Regions from separate parts of the Homo sapiens genome. Here region 1 is linked to region 2. Evidence: promoter capture Hi-C in 16 types of primary human blood cells and fetal thymus (Javierre and others, 2016). All regions are on one chromosome and are shown on one strand. The core of a region is centred on a gene start or on the middle of the fragment in contact, and the rest is flanking DNA. Distances in the headings are between cores, read along the strand shown.

The links. The method cuts DNA at HindIII sites, captures the fragments that hold promoters and counts their contacts. A CHiCAGO score of 5 or more calls a contact.
Region 1: the fragment with the promoter of LCE1F here is called in contact with the fragment with the promoter of PRR9 in region 2 in 2 of 17 cell types (M2 macrophages and M0 macrophages); the score reaches 5.5 in M2 macrophages.

What each region holds. Positions count from the first base shown.
Region 1 is chr1:152,773,570-152,776,393 of GRCh38, forward strand. It overlaps LCE1F (late cornified envelope 1F), which reads left to right and starts at 1,571. Exons shown (of 2, transcript NM_178354.3): 1 at 1,571-1,621; 2 at 2,781-2,824. The coding sequence starts at 2,803. The HindIII fragment of the contact is 9,364 bases long and covers 1-2,824 here.
Region 2 is chr1:153,216,169-153,218,910 of GRCh38, forward strand. PRR9 (proline rich 9) reads left to right here and starts at 1,416. Exons shown (of 2, transcript NM_001195571.2): 1 at 1,416-1,451; 2 at 1,957-2,742. The coding sequence starts at 1,977. The coding sequence ends at 2,327. The HindIII fragment of the contact is 3,256 bases long and covers 1,308-2,742 here.

The sequences.
Region 1 (2,824 bases), core at 321-2,820, 440 kb before region 2:
GAACTTTAAAGTAGTTTTCTCCAATTCTGTGAAGAAAGTCATTGGTAGCTTGATGGGGATGGCGTTGAATCTATAAATTACCTTGGGCAGTATGGCCATTTTCACGATATTGATTCTTCCTACCCATGAGCATGGAATGTTCTTCCATTTGTTTGTATCCTCTTTTATTTCCTTGGGCAGTGGTTTGTAGTTCTCTTCCTGAAACTCTAAATACATGGGTGCTAGAATGTTTGATATTATTCCACTGGTCACTGATCATCTGTTCATTTTTTTAATATTTTTCCCTTTCTTCAGTTCAGTTTGAACAATTTCTTCAAGTTCACCGATCTGTTCTTCTGCAACTTATAATCTGCTAAAACCATCCAATAATTCTTTGATGTTATATGTAATTTTGACCATATTTATTTTTCAAATATTGGTTTTTTATTGTTAGATTTTGCATTTGGTTAGTTTTGAGCATGGGAAACTGGGAAATTAAACCCAGGAAATGTGTATTGCAACAAAGCCAATAATTTCAAATTAAATATTGACTATGTCTATTCTTGTCTATACCAACTACACCACTCCAAGTCACAGTTCAAAGCCACCTCATTGGCTGTTCTCTTCTCTTCACCCTTCTCATCTTTATTTTACCTCATCCCTTCAGCTTTTCCTCAGGAAACTGCAAATTCTTTTATGCTATAATTTGGGGCAATATACATCCTTTAGTCCTCTTTTCTTATACCCACTCTGGATCTACCTTCAGAAAGCCCTATTCACTGAGGTACGTAGGAGGAAAAAAAAATGGCCTTTAGTTTTAATAAGAGCCACCTAACTTAAAAGGCACCTGTGACTTTAAAAATTCCCAATGTCCATTAAAATCTCAGGTTTGCCTCTATTTTTCTTTCTATCTATCTATCTATCTATCTATCTATCTATCTATCTACCTATTCATCCATTTCCTAATTATAACCACATGCCACATACTATCTCAGCTACTTCCCCTTTGTTATCTTAATTAATTTGTAAATCCTGCAGAAAAGATATTTCTCTTATTATCTTCATTTAAAACATCAGAAAGCCAATGGCCAAAAATATTGAATACTTTGCCAGGGTCTCCAAGGCCTCTTTTCTCGACTTCTATGATGCACACACATGCCCATGTGCACATGGACAAACCCCATAATGCAGGCATGTGGATTTTTAACCAAGCTATATGGACCCAAAGGTCTAGATGGAAAATTAGTATCTAGAATAGAAGGAAAAATGAGTTGTTTGTGCAGAATTCATAAGTGTGACTACAAGACTGTGAAGAGAGCCATCTTCATAGGAAATAGGCCACGGAGGACTCCAGGAACCATGATGTCCATTTTCACCCACCACAAGCCCCCATTTCCACCAAGCTCTTTCCTAGCTGACAGCAGCTCCCCTGAACACCAATGAAGGACGGTATATGCAGAACTGCCAGTCACCACTCGTCACAAGACCTATGTGGGTGTCGGGAGGCAGGTCCTCTCATGCCCAGGCTCTGTCTCACCGCTGGAGGCAGCACCCAAGGACAGAATAAAAGGGCTCAGGGCCAGAGCATCCCATCCACTCACCTCCTGCGGTGCTGAAGAACCCTGTGCTGCCTGTGATCCTGGTAAGTGTGCCCTGGAAAAAGGAGCAGGGGCTTCCACAGAGGGATGCCCAGGCCAGGGAAGGAGGGGATGGATACTCAGACCAGGGCAGGAGTAGAGTCTAGGCAGGGCCTCAGGGGCCTGGAATTGTGATTGGCAAGGAATGGGGTGGGGGCAGAAAATTGGAAAGAGGAGGTAGAGGGGTGGGGTGGAGTGAGAGAGATTAAGAAGAACTGGTAAGATCTGAAGGGCTGTATGACACAGATTTAGAGGAACCAAATTGTTTTCAGTTGCTCAGTGTGTTTCTCTGGTTTTAGAGAATAAACACATTGGCCACTGGATGTTGCTAGAGTGGGCTGCATAGTGGGAATATAATTTTGGAAATACAGACATACTCACTTTTAGAAAAGATATGCTGAGAACACTGCTACTTAGAGGAAGAAAGGATCAAAGACACCTGTGGATCTTGTTAGATGCCAACAAGAAGATCTGTAGTGGAAAACTGAGTGCACACTGGAGTTTAAAAGCCATGTGACAGTGCCTGGGGACAGGCCTGGGGAGGCAGGATGTGCTAAAGGGCAGAGCCCAGGATGGGAACCAGGGGACCCCGGAACAAATGTGACTGTTAATGAATAACTTTGGGCCAGTGAAGTTACCTCTTTTGGCTTCAGTTTCTTTATTTATATATTGAGTTGGTTGGAACAAATTGACTCCAACATCCTTTGCGGTTATAGTTTTCTCTATTTCTGCAAACTGAAATATATCAGTTCTTCCAATAGAAATTTATTTTGATTTTTCCTTAAAGAGATTTTCATCTCTAAACTGGTCTCAACATTGAACATTTTCAGAATTCTTGGTGATGTGATAGAATGAATGCTGGCCCGGAGCCAATTTATTTCCTGGACTTCTCTCCCACACTTAGGAGCTTTTAATGAGCAGAAACTTTATTTACATATTTGGAGATTATATATTGCATGACAACATCTCAAATAAGGTTTGAAATGAGAATCCATGAATGAAAGCACTTGGTAAACATTGAGAGTGATAAAAACATTAGAGGTGATTTTCCTATGTTTGATATAAGGCTTTCAAAATGAAGGATCTAGAAATAATGCAGAAAGGACAAGAATAGGCAGGGGTGTCCTCTGCCTCCATCTAACTTGCTGTCTGACCCTCCTTCAGCTCCTGAACACCCGCCACCGAGATGTCTTGCCAGCAGAGCCAGC
Region 2 (2,742 bases), core at 166-2,665:
CTCCTCCCACCCCACAACAGGCCCCTGTGTGTGAGAACATAACTTTAAATTAAGGAGAAAGGAAGGGAACATCATCATATTTAAAGACCCTTGAATTTGGTCAACTTCAGCAAACACAGAACCACCATTTTAAGGAAATGGGGGCTTCTTTCAAAGTAAATCTTTTCCCATTTTCAATTAAATGAGATTTTCCTCTACTCCCAGCTCTCCCACATCCACCTTCTGTATTCCTTCATTAATACATTTACCCCATCAATAATCATTTGTCTTCCATCATCTTCCACTTACTATACCTATGGCATAGTACCTATCCTCTAGGAACTTATAACCCAGGAAAAAATAAGATCTATATATAAATATCTGGAAAGTCCTAATTTCAATAGTAAATGTCATATGAATAATATAAATAATAGATACCATGGGAGTGCATAAAGAGGTGGATTCATTTCTGGTTTAGAGTAATCAGGAAAGGCTCTCAGAGGGTGGTAGACATGAGTAAAGCTTTGCAGAATGCTTAGGATTCCCACAGGCACAGGGAGAACACACCAGGTAAAAACTAACAGCCCAAACTAGAAAGTAGAGGTAGAGAAAACTGGGTGTGTTTGCTTTGAAACTTTTCCTTTCATCCCCTGACTTTTATTGACTTGAGTTCTAAGAAAACGTTTTCCAGAAGGCAAAGAGACAAGTTAACTTTGTTCCAGCCTGTTCTCCTGGTCACTATGAAAACTCTGTGAGTAACTCCACTTTCATAAGGGTGTCATAAATCAAGGTTGAGAAGATGAAGATTGTCTGCCTTCTCCTTCCTCTCTCTTCCCCTTCACCCCACTTCACAACCCAAGAGTAACAAATGAACCGCAATTTCCCTCAAGACCATCACGCAGGAAAATCACTCTCTTCAGCAGGCTGAAAGCCCTTTGTTCGCTTGGAACCACAGGACGAGCCTTCATCCTTGCATCTGAAGGGTGACTTTCTAGGCTTGATGAAGAAGTGTCTGCAACAGGCCATACAAGCCCTTGACCCAGAGAGGCCCCAGGCCTTAGGCATAAAATCTTCCCATTGGTGAAGATGAGATGAGCAAGGTGGATCTTATCTCTCACCACATCCTGTACCAGTTTGGGCAGACAAGGAATCCTGGTTGAACAGACTGAGATAACACTTTATGAACATTCTTTTCCTGCTGCCTCTGATGAGAGAGATCTGAGAGAAGCCCCTCCCTGCTGAGGTCTGGTGAGGACCCACAGGCCAAAATGCAGTCTGATTAACAGGCATCCCAAGCAGTGACTCAAACCATCGGCAATTTCAGAGGAAGCTTGTTATGGTGACTCCACAATTAATACCACAGCCCATGTGACCAGTCAGTCCCGCGGGAGGCTGGACTAAGCAACATATAAAAGTCCCACCTTGCTGGGCTTCACAGTCCACAGCCTTTGTTGAGTCTTGTTGAAGATCAGGTAAGTGGGGCATCTGTGCCCTCTCTCTCCCTGTTACTCTGTCTTTAGGCGGCCGCTGTTCTGTTCCTCTTATGGACTGTACTTTCTACTGATTTTTTAAGTGGTTTGCCATTTCTTGGGCCTCACAAACTATCCTGTATATTCTATCCAGACTAGAATTTGCCTATCTAGTCTAGTCTCTTGCACCTGATTTTCAAAAGGATTCGTAGACTAGAAGAGAAGGGAAAAAAACCTGTGGTAAGACTGGGGTTTGGAGCTATGGATGTCTAGACAGAGGCCAGGAGAACACTCCCACTTTGGAGACAGGTGCCACAGGGAGCTGCAGCCAGGATAGAAAAGAGAAAGAGATAAAAAGCAGCCAAGAAATTAGTTCTTACTTCCACTCCTCATTCCATTCCATTAGTTCTTCCATCCACTCCTCATTCCTCTTTCTCAACCCTTCATTCCCCAGTTCCCATGCTGATATTTTTAATACAGATAATTTCGAATCTTGTGTTTTTTTCAGGCTCTGCAAATCACCCTAGGATGTCCTTCAGTGAGCAGCAGTGCAAGCAGCCATGTGTGCCCCCTCCATGCCTCCCAAAGACCCAGGAGCAGTGCCAAGCAAAGGCTGAGGAGGTGTGCCTCCCCACATGCCAGCACCCCTGCCAAGATAAGTGTCTAGTGCAGGCCCAGGAGGTATGTCTTTCTCAGTGCCAGGAATCAAGTCAAGAAAAATGCCCACAGCAAGGCCAAGAGCCATACCTACCTCCATGCCAAGACCAGTGTCCACCTCAGTGTGCAGAGCCATGCCAGGAGCTATTCCAGACAAAATGTGTGGAGGTTTGCCCACAGAAAGTCCAGGAGAAGTGCTCATCCCCTGGCAAGGGAAAGTAGCTGCTCATATGTCATCTGGGTTCAAGAAGATGGCCAGCAGATGAAACCCTGACCCCAGCCCACGCTCTGGTGACCTTCTTCTGTGGGTACCTCTGTGTGCAATGTACCTTCTTGCCTCCTGGCTTCCTTAGCATTCCAGGACTTGGTCTGTGTCTCTGAAGACAGTTCTTTCTGTATTTCATCACCCTCTGTGAATAAGCATTGTTCTCAGCAGTCTGATGGAAGGTCTCAAATGTAGGAATGGTGTGGTTGTCAGGGAAGACCACAGAAGCCTAGCACAGCTTCCTTGGTGCAAAAATTCACCCAGCTCTGGGTGTGTAACAGCCAAGGATACCTTCATTCATCTTTCAGAGTTTCAGGCTCTCAAATAAGCCTCAAAACAAACTGAATTCTGATGGACTTTCCACTTATCACC